Regions from separate parts of the Homo sapiens genome. Here regions 2, 3 and 4 are each linked to region 1. Evidence: promoter capture Hi-C in human tissues and cell types (Jung and others, 2019). All regions are on one chromosome and are shown on one strand. The core of a region is centred on a gene start or on the middle of the fragment in contact, and the rest is flanking DNA. Distances in the headings are between cores, read along the strand shown.

Evidence for each region. Contacts are between HindIII fragments. The study calls those that stand out against the background at their distance.
Region 2: a contact is called between a fragment that was not itself captured here and the fragment with the promoter of FERD3L in region 1, in 4 of the 25 tissues and cell types used here (H1 embryonic stem cells, IMR-90 fibroblasts, bladder and 1 more).
Region 3: a fragment that was not itself captured here is called in contact with the fragment with the promoter of FERD3L in region 1 in 1 of the 25 tissues and cell types used here (neural progenitor cells).
Region 4: a fragment that was not itself captured here is called in contact with the fragment with the promoter of FERD3L in region 1 in 3 of the 25 tissues and cell types used here (H1 embryonic stem cells, mesenchymal stem cells and mesendoderm cells).

The regions. Positions count from the first base shown.
Region 1 is chr7:19,144,151-19,146,715 of GRCh38, reverse strand. FERD3L (Fer3 like bHLH transcription factor) reads left to right here and starts at 1,295. Exons shown (of 1, transcript NM_152898.2): 1 at 1,295-1,934. The coding sequence starts at 1,354. The coding sequence ends at 1,854. RefSeq lists enhancers at 249-897, 1,363-2,562. The HindIII fragment of the contact is 11,409 bases long and covers 1-2,565 here.
Region 2 is chr7:19,376,006-19,378,570 of GRCh38, reverse strand. No RefSeq gene overlaps it. Among named protein-coding and RNA genes, the nearest start is that of FERD3L, 230 kb to the right of the region's middle. The HindIII fragment of the contact is 3,576 bases long and covers 1-2,565 here.
Region 3 is chr7:19,308,061-19,310,625 of GRCh38, reverse strand. All of the region lies in intron 2 of LOC107986773 (a long non-coding RNA gene), which reads right to left. Among named protein-coding and RNA genes, the nearest start is that of FERD3L, 160 kb to the right of the region's middle. The HindIII fragment of the contact is 3,682 bases long and covers 1-2,565 here.
Region 4 is chr7:19,288,253-19,290,817 of GRCh38, reverse strand. No RefSeq gene overlaps it. Among named protein-coding and RNA genes, the nearest start is that of FERD3L, 140 kb to the right of the region's middle. The HindIII fragment of the contact is 4,755 bases long and covers 1-2,565 here.

The DNA of each region.
Region 1 (2,565 bases), core at 46-2,545:
AATATAGTTATTGGCAAACAAAGAAAAAGAACCTTTTTGTTAAAATATTTGGGATACTCGAGATAATATAAAATGAGTAATCTCTTATTTTTCTTATGCCAAATTTAAAATCTCTTTCTTTTCTCAAAAATAACGATCTAACGATAGCCAAAAACTCCCTTAAATATATTTCAATAAATCATTGTTTCTGCACTTAAGTCTTACTGTAGGACAATACAAATCAATGAGGAAAATACGCCAGATGGAAGTGTTAGGTTTTTTTCTTTGTTCGGGAACAAATACTCGATCCGCAATTTAAAAGTCCGAAGACTCCTCAGCAGAGGGTGAGCTGATTGACTCTTTGGCTTATCAAGGGCAAATCGCATTTCTGAAAAGAGCTTGAAGTGGTTTTGTTTGTGAGGAGAGTTTGCTTTGTCCCCCACACTGAAAAGTATACAGCAAAGCCCGAGCATAGAAAATATCCTGAGCTTAAATTTCTCATTTTATTGCCATCATAACTTTTCCTCTTGGAATAAAATCCTCTATTTTATATGAGTAGGAGGTAAAGGTAGGGAAAGGAAAGTCAAGTATCTCAATTGTTACGCTGATTGCATCCAAACAGACTTTAGAAGTCAGGGTTTGTAACGTGGCAGGAGAGCTGTTTGCGATGCCCTGGAAAGAAAAGAAAGCCGGTTCCAACAGCGACTCTGGGGAATGCACTCTCGGTCCCCCTGCCATGCTTACTTAAGCTAATTGAAGGTCTTGCCTTTCAGCAGCCGCTGCACTGGGATACCAGACAAACAGCTCCCCTTGATGCCAGGCAGGCAGGGCCCCTCTTCAGGACATCATTAAAAGCACATGCACTTGCTCCACATCCATTGGCAGATGGTGGCAAGATTCAAGACTCCTACCCTGAAGTCAAGGAGAAGCCATCGCGGTGGAAAACATCCTCGCTTTGAAAATCCAACACGAAATTAAAGAACTACACGAGATAAGGAGCCTGGAGAACATTAGTTGGCTGCAGGGGTGAAGACAGACACAAAAAGCACAGCAGGTAAGAGCTGGGGGTTGTTGCCAACAAGGAACTGTCCCGGGTGGCGCAGAGAAAAGGATCTCAGAACTGGAGCCCTGTCCCTTTGAGTCTTCCATGCGTGCTCAAGCTTGTCATCTTCCATAAGCTTCGAGAGAAGGGACGTTGTCAGAGCATTCCTTATCGGTGCGACTAATCCTGTTATCAGCTTGGTTATAAATATTTAATGTTCCCTGGCCTTTCGGTGATGGTGCCCCATCAGATTCAAGGCTGTTAAGAATCCCCACCAGCAACCTCGCCCCTCCCTGCGGAAAACCGATGAGAGGCAGGGCCAAGCCGAAGCGATGGCGGCCTATCCGGAGAGCTGCGTGGACACTACGGTGCTGGACTTCGTCGCAGACCTGTCCCTGGCCTCCCCGAGACGCCCTCTCCTCTGCGACTTCGCACCCGGGGTCTCCTTGGGGGACCCAGCCCTTGCGCTCCGAGAGGGAAGACCCAGGAGGATGGCGCGGTTTGAAGAGGGGGACCCAGAAGAAGAGGAGTGCGAAGTGGACCAGGGGGACGGAGAAGAGGAGGAGGAAGAGGAGCGCGGAAGAGGTGTCTCCCTATTAGGCCGCCCCAAGAGGAAAAGGGTGATCACCTACGCCCAGCGCCAGGCCGCCAACATCCGCGAAAGGAAGCGGATGTTCAACCTCAACGAGGCCTTTGACCAGCTGCGGAGGAAGGTGCCCACGTTTGCTTACGAGAAAAGGCTGTCCCGGATCGAGACCCTCCGCCTGGCCATCGTCTATATCTCCTTCATGACCGAGCTCTTGGAGAGCTGTGAGAAGAAGGAAAGCGGCTGAGCCTGGTGTGGAGAGTCTGCCCTTCCTCGTCTGGTAGTGCTGGGGTGTGTCAGGACCGGGCACTGGGTGAGGCTAAAGGGCCGGGAGGGAGGCCCCAAGACAGAACGTCTGGTCTTCTGGAGGTCGGGGTCGAGATTGTAAGATCCCCACATGCGCTGAGCAGAGTGGCTGCTGTAGAGTTCATATCTACGCGACCGCCCTAAGTGAAGTCGGGGTCAGGGGCGAGCGGGGAAGTCAGAGAGCGTGAGGCTGAGTCGGGGCCGTTCAGGCTGCTCCTAAGAGCTTCCGTGGGCTGGGTGGGTGGGAAGTGAACCCTCCTCGCAAATGGCAGACTTTGGAGCTTCTATAAAATCTAACCTCTCTTCTTTACATTTTTTTTTTCATAGAGATAATAAAGTAGAAATTCTTACGTTTTTAAAAAGCCTGAAGGGTCGGTGGTACGCCATCCCCAGCAGGCGCTCCAGCGGGCGCCTGCGTGGAGGGTCTGAAGCAGACGCCGCAAGGGTGCGGGGGTGCGAGCTTTTCTGCTAGCCAGAGGGTTCTGCCTGGTCCTCCGAGGCTTGTCCAGGAACTGAGGAAAGGAAAAATGGAAGGCAGAGCAGTCGAGAGGAACTGCTGACAAAGTGCGACCTCTGAGAAGGGACACCCTTCCTGTCTTCCATTCCCTCTCCCTCCCGTCCCTTCCTCTCTCCCGCGCGCAAGCCCTCTCTC
Region 2 (2,565 bases), core at 37-2,536, 230 kb before region 1:
CCCAGATGGCAGTCTTTGTAGTTTGTGGCACTGATTCAAAAGGCATATTAACTGCCACTCTACTAGCTGCATCAAGCATTTACAGGCCTCCCTACAGAATGGGTTCAGCAGTAATTAAAATAACACCCTTCCTCAGGGTGAAGTTACACTTGAAGACTTCGGGGATGTTTTTCTTTCCTTCCTTTGGGTAAATTCCTTCTCCCCGAAATATAAGAAAAAGATGAGAGTGGAGAGAGCTTCAGAGAAAGATGGGGAGAGAGGGAGAGAAGTTTAAAATAGTACACCAAAGCGTGTGTCACATAAACTATTTTAAAATGTTAGTATTTCTTCCATTCCCTAGCAGACATTGATAGACAAACAGGTTAAAAAAAAAGCAAGGGGGAAAAATATCATTTACTCACTGTAGCAGCAGGAAATCAAGGAAAGAAAATAAACAGGGCTTGAATTGTGGGCCTTTAACCTGCTAGTCAGACAGTTTCATTCTGTGTGTATTTGTGTGCTGGTAAATGGCGAAGGGGAGGTACAGGGACGGGAGGGCTGTGGGATTCTCGGGACTCCCACAGCTACCAGTCCAGCTGTACAAACACGCACAAGCTTTGTTAAGGTACGGTGGGCAACAAGCTCAAACTGCTGAGCTATCTGACCTATAAATCCCTCGCAAAAGCTCCACTTGAGGGGAAGCCAGAAGTTATGTGTCAATTTTTTATCCAGCCAGAAGCTAGCTATTGGTCACTTCCGTCTCCCCTGTCTTTTTCTCTCAATGGATCCTCTGCTCTGGCGGGCTACATTTTAAGTATGTGTAGATGCATAAATGGCTATCTTAAATTCTACTTCTCTCTAGGCTAAACAAGAAGGGGGATGACTCAGAAGCACCCCCCCCCCCCACCACTTCATGACACAGCTTAGAGCATATGTTCCAAAATTATGAGCCATAACTTTAGGCAGAGCAATGAAACTTTCTGTTATTCTTTTTATAAATTTCTTTTTCAAACTCAGTAAGCGCATCACTTTAAAATACCATAAATTTACAAATACAATTTTTTTAAACAACGCAAGCACAAGAGACTTGAGATATTCCCTTATATATGACACAACTTACTTTGCTCTGTTTTTAACTTTGCTTTTTTCCTGATTCAAAACAGATAATCTTAGCTTGGCATATTGTATCTTGAATGCAAACAAAGAAGAGGTTCTGAATTGCTAACTCCAAAGAGAACCTTCCTAAGATTTTTTTTCTCTTTTCTAAACATTTCTGAACTCTAAGTGACCTCCTTTTATGAAGCTTCCAAATGGCATCCAAACACCTTAAACATCGTGCAGTTACTAAACTGTATAGACTATTAAAAAGCTGAAGAAATTACATAAAACTATAACACGTGAAGCAGGCTTAATTTAAGTAGAAATGGCTTTTGTAATCATTCAGAAAGCTAGAGATGTCTCTATGTTTAAAATATTTAGAAGCCACTTTGGGCTTTCCAAAATCCTGAGGAAAAAATATAATCCACACTAAAAACAAAAGGCATGTACCCACAGAGAGATGTTTACTCTATGCACCTTCTGTTCTGATAACTTAGAGTTATGTGATTTGGGTAGCATTCAAACAATATTGAATATTGAGAGACATTAAGCAAAAGTTGCATTATACTGAAATAATATTTCATGTTAAAGATTTATTTCAATAATTGTCACTGAATTTCTACAACACACTGAGCACCAGACTAGGACTAAAAAGGGTGGTAAGTGATGAATCATTGCTCTTGCTATCTTATCAGAATGTGCACTCAGGGAAAGAAGATAAAACAAGCACAGCCATAACTACACCACACAACTAAAAGAGAGAAGTACACCAGAAAAGTAAAAACGCAGAACTATGGACGTACAGAAGTGGCAGGAAGGACTTCCAGAAAGAGGAAGTCAATGAAAATTATGCCTTGGACCTTTTCATCTTCTCAAAATATATCATATATATCACATGAAGGATGGATAACTTCCATCACATTAAAATAATGATAAAGAAATAGAGACGACTTGTGGCAAAAGAGTTTGTAAACATTCTCTGACAAGGAATTTGAAGGAAAGAGATTTTGTTTCAGTGAACCAAATCCTGGGAGATGCAGCCTCTAGTGTAAAAATGAAGGTGCACATTCTAGAAAACAAGGAGAGGGTTCAAGTTTTATAGCAAGAAACTCCTGCCTGGGTTGCCAATCAGATCTGTTTATGCAAATGAAAGATTGAATCTTCCTTAGTTCTGATTGGTCAGTGCAGCTGAGCCTTGATTGGCTGGGGCAAGTAAGAGCTGACTGGTTTGTTTCAAAGCCCCAAACCAGAAGTCTCTGTCTTATGTTTCTTTCAAAGGGCAGTGGTGGGTGTGCAAGAGGGCATGTGATGGCATGAAGCTGGGTGAGGTTCTGGCTTTCTGATCCAGGCCTGACAACAGGAACTGGTTTTGCTTGATTGTAGAAAAGAAGGTTTCATGATACTTTCACAACATCTTTCTGAGAACATAGAGTTACTGATGGCTCCCTCACCCAGCTATGGCTGCATAGTTCTGTTTCAACTTTAAGC
Region 3 (2,565 bases), core at 20-2,519, 160 kb before region 1:
GAACAAGAATTTAAAGCTGTTGACTTCTGATCCAATAGTCTTTATCCCAGACTCCTCCTCAATAGAGATCTCATGCTAGAAAATTTTTATTCATAGATATTTTACAGCCTTGTGAATGGAGAATCCATATTGCCCAGATGGAAATCAAATTTTAGTTTTTAAAAAAATATATTGGAAATTCTTCCTTCTACTAGATCTGCAAAACTAAATCATGGCTCCTGCAGAGATAAGCTATCAACTGACTAAGGACGTCAGGAAAATGTATCTCTAGAACATTTCATGAAAGGAAGATGTATTGGTTATCACAAACCACTTACATAGCCAAGTAGTAGAATAGTTCAGACTTCTAGTTTTCATTAATAAAGTTATACAACTTGTTCTCATTTCAAAGATGAAGTGCCTATTTGTAATAGTTAAACAAATAAAAATAACCATGGAATAGACTCCGAGGTTTCACAGTCTTAAAATTGACCTGAGTTATTAATATTTTAGGCAACAGGTGTTTCCTTCAGTGAAAACAGAGCATTAGCAGCATTGGAGGTTCCTGATCAAGGTAAAAATGAGGCAGGAATTGGCACAGACTTTGTCATAAATATTTGACAAATTAATTTTGCTACCACTGTTATGAAATAATTGATTTTTCAAGAAAATATTTACAGGTACTCACCACTAAAATTTTGCTATGCTAGTACTAATTCTAGGCATTTGGTTATTCTCTTTTGAAAACAAAAATGTAAATTCCCCATCCACTAATGCCATCAGAGAGATGCTGAAGCATGCTAAAGATAGACTTCAGTGTGCACCAACCAGTTAATCACAGTCAGAAGTCCCAACTCCCAAGTTATCAAACTGAACAATGATCTAAACCCAAAGGCTTGTTTCTGGTGCCATATACTTCTTCCCTAGAACCCTAAAGGAATTATTACCAGGGCAAGGAGATCATACTCAGCAGTATTCAGCATCCTTCAGTCTGGTGAAGAACTCACTCTCAATGAAATCCTTTCTCCCTTACCTGTCCTGCACACACACACACACACACACACACACACACACACACCCTCATTGTTAGCCTTCAGCAAATTGGGAAATATGACAGACAACTGGTATTGAGGAATATCCAATGGCAGAAAATTAATCTCTCAGTGGCAGAACTAACCAAAATTGTAGGCCATAAGCACTATAGCTAATGCCAGTATACATGAAAATTATCTTGTTTTCTGAGAATTCTGTTTTACAAACATGTGGAGCTCAAGATTTTCAATTACAGTCCCACCATTTACAATGTACCTTCATTCTAGTTACTTGCTTTCAAACCTCTTTTTTAATATTAAAATGAGGATAAAAATAGTTTCCATCTTTATAAGGTTATTATATGAGCAAAAATGACATTCTGTGTGTGTGTGTATGTGTGTGTGTGTGTGTGTGTGTGTGTGTGTGTATGGCTTAGCCCAGTGCTCAATAAGTATTACCTATTCACATTGTATCCCTTTAAAAAAAATCCAACAATATTAAGATTATTGTATTTGAGAACACATTTACAGATCAGGACCCCCTACGCACACACACACACACACACACACACACACACACACACACACAAAATAAAAGCTTTGTGGCTATTGCCAACATACTTCTTAAAATGCATGTTCTTTATATGGTAGATGTTATTAGGAGTGCATAGTATTAAATATGCATGACATTAAATGTGTAGTTACATACACAAATCTGGTTACAAAGTGAATTTCCAAAAACATAAAATATAACTAAGAGTAAGAGTGTAAGGGAACATGAGAATATGAGAAGCAAGGTTAATACATGAAAAAAAAGGACAGCAATAAGTAATAGGAATTTACCCAGGCATAAATAAAAATATGCTTGGGAAAAGATATGGCACCATACTATGGGATTTCATAAAACAACTTATATTATTTCTCTCACCACTGTTAACTAGCATATTTATTAGGTGATGCAAAAGTAATTGCTGTCTTTACCATTAAAAGTAATGGCCAGGCCGGGCACAGTGGCTCATGCCTGTAACCCCAGCACTTCTGGAGGCCAGTGGATCATGAGGTCAGGAGACTGAGACCACCCTGACTCACATGGTGAAACCCCGTCTCTACTAAAAATACAAAAATTAGCCGGGCGTGGTGGCGGGCGCCCGTAGTCCCAGCTACTCAGAGGCTGAGGCAGGAGAATTGCTTGAACCCGGGAGGCGGAGGCTGCAGTGAGCAGAGATCATGCCACTGCACTCTAGCCTGGTCAACAGAGCCAAACTCCGTCTTAAAAAAAAAAAAAAAGTAATGGTCAAAACGGCTATTACTTTTGTACCAACCTATATGAAATCTAATATGAAAATGATTGTATAGTACTGTAGTATTTTGGTCACTGTATAGTGATAAGTTTCTTTAATTTTTATGTTATATGCATTTAATCAAAAAATTGATGTAGGCTTCTGACAGTTTTGTAAATCCTGATTTTTTTCTAGGTGAGCCACATTATATCGTGATTTTCAGAAAGCATTTTCTAAAAGAGCAACTTCTGAGAAGTGAATAATTTAAATCTCTA
Region 4 (2,565 bases), core at 42-2,541, 140 kb before region 1:
GAGGAGCAAAACCAGGCAAATATTAGTTACCGTTCATCTAGTTCTTTGTCCAGGTGGTAAGTTCACTAATGTTCATTCTATGGCTAGTTAATTACGTTTTTTAAAATATGGCCATTCATGGGTGAACAATGATAGCATATCATGAATCAAGATGTGGGATTAATCTAATTATCTGGGGAGTTGGGAAATCATATTGGGCATCAGATTTATTTCGTTCTAATTGACAAAACTACTGAACTCATCATTTTATTAGATTAATAATAATCTTACTTTTCTAAAAAGTGATGTTTTATAGGTCCATGTACCTTTTTACTACATTCGTTTTGATCTGAAAACAATTAGAAAAATATGATAGAACGGATAAACCACTACAGGTCTGAACATAACCAAATATATCTACTCTAATATTCACATGTATCTATTTTGTGATGTAGGCTCCACAAAATAGATATCTTCCCTAAGGAAAAAGCAACTGCACTGGAAAGAATAACCACAATTGAGTATTCTCCTGGATACCCTGAAGATATACAGGCACTCAGTCATGAGGAATTTACTGAGCAACCACCATATTTCAGGATACTGGATGCTGAGGACACAGAGATAAATAAAATATTGTTTCTGCCAACAAAGAGCCTACAGAGGCAGGAGGCTCCTCTTTGTATCACATTTATACCTTGGAAAATTGACTTAGCAACTTGAGAGACTGCAATTCAGAAATAACTGTCTCTTTAATCTAGTTCAAAGAAAATTCTTAAAAAATTTGTGAAATGTTTCTTTATATCAGTTTAATATAATGTATTATTTATACTCAGAAGATAAAATGTGTTTTTTTCATTTTCTACCACAGAATTCAATACTTTATAAACTATAATTATAGACAAATTTCTCAGAAAATGAAAAGTAATTGTAATAATAGCAGTTAGATAGTTACATTACTTTTTAAAGCCTTATTGTTCAACAGTTTATAAGGGGGCAATATGTAATTTTATTTTAAATGAAGTAATAAATTTGGTTCACTTTATAATGATTTTGCAATTGTCTAATATGAAACTAAAATAGTAAGTTCCGACTTCTTACTTCTTTTCAGAATTTTATAATAAAGATTTATAGACCTTCTTTTTGAGACATGTACACTATTCATTCACTGATTATTGATTATATTTTCTATAAGAAACAAAAAGTTATGCAAAATTTCCATTAAATAACAGTGGAAAGAACACATGCACTTTTAGAAAGCAAATTCAATTCACATTTTCTTATGGTAAGTAAGAAAACTGATGGATGCTGTGACAAAGTAGAAAGGTGATAGATTTAAAATGGTCTGATTCTTTTTACTTTCATTTCAGTAGTATTTAACATATATTTTACAATTACCATGTGATTATCATGTGACATGCTTTAGAAGGGGAAATCCATGTTTAATGGATGAAAAACTACTGTATGTATAACATTACTCTTAGAAGTGCCATGTGTAGTCTAAGTTATCTAAGTCATCAAAACTTTATAGAAGAAATGAAAATTTAAACAAGGAAAGAAAGGAGTGATAGGCTTGCTGTAAGGATAAGCTTTGTGATTTTAGTGATTTATCATAATGGAAAGGTAGTGAGCAAAGCAGAGGAAAATGAAAGCTTTAGCAGAAAGTACTTAGCATAAAACTTCAAAGAGGCTTTCCATAATGTCTGTGATCCTGGTTATAAAGAGAAAATAAAAGAAAATATCTGTCCACTTAAATGTAAAACAAATGGTCAATTATATGGCATAAGTATCTTTTGTCCAGGCAGGAGGATCAAACCTTAGAAAAGAAAGAAGGTAACTATTCCTTCTTTAGGACGCAAAACAAACTAGATTGCATGGTTACATTTTATAGTGTTAGCTACAGAATTTTAAGCTTCATTATTCTAGATTTTCTACACGATCAGTTTTACAAACTGAACAGGCCATATCTATACACATCCTTATTTACATTCATATATTTGTTTCTATTCCCAACCATAGTACATCACTAATTATTAAAACATTGGAAGGTAAGAAAGGATAGTTTTGCTTTTCTTCAACATATTAATGGGTTTATAGCCACAAAAAGTGACTTGTAATGATTTATGAGAAGTTGAATATTATTTTAAATGTGAAATGCTAATTTTATGCTTATTTTTTCAAAGCATGTTATCTCTAGTAAACTCTTTTGATCATCTCAACAATGCAGTGATGGTGCTTTGTTACAGCACAAAAAAAAACACAAAGACAAAATCATCAAATGACTAATAGGAATCCAAATGTGTCCAACCTCTTCAATCATATTTTCTGACACGAATTCTAAATCATTTCCTAGAAATTATCTATGCTGGTTTACACAGTCTTTGAATCATTAGGCCCAAAAGCCTATGATTACTATGGAAGCCTAGTTCTAGACACATCCTGTTGCCTTCAAAGAATACATTTTGAAAGTACCAAATAGCTCAAATAGCTTCTCTCATTACTATTAGGGAAAATTCAGATGACCATGAAGACTTTCATTGCTTATTTGGGGGCTATGTATTAGCAGGTCACATCTATATTCTATATATC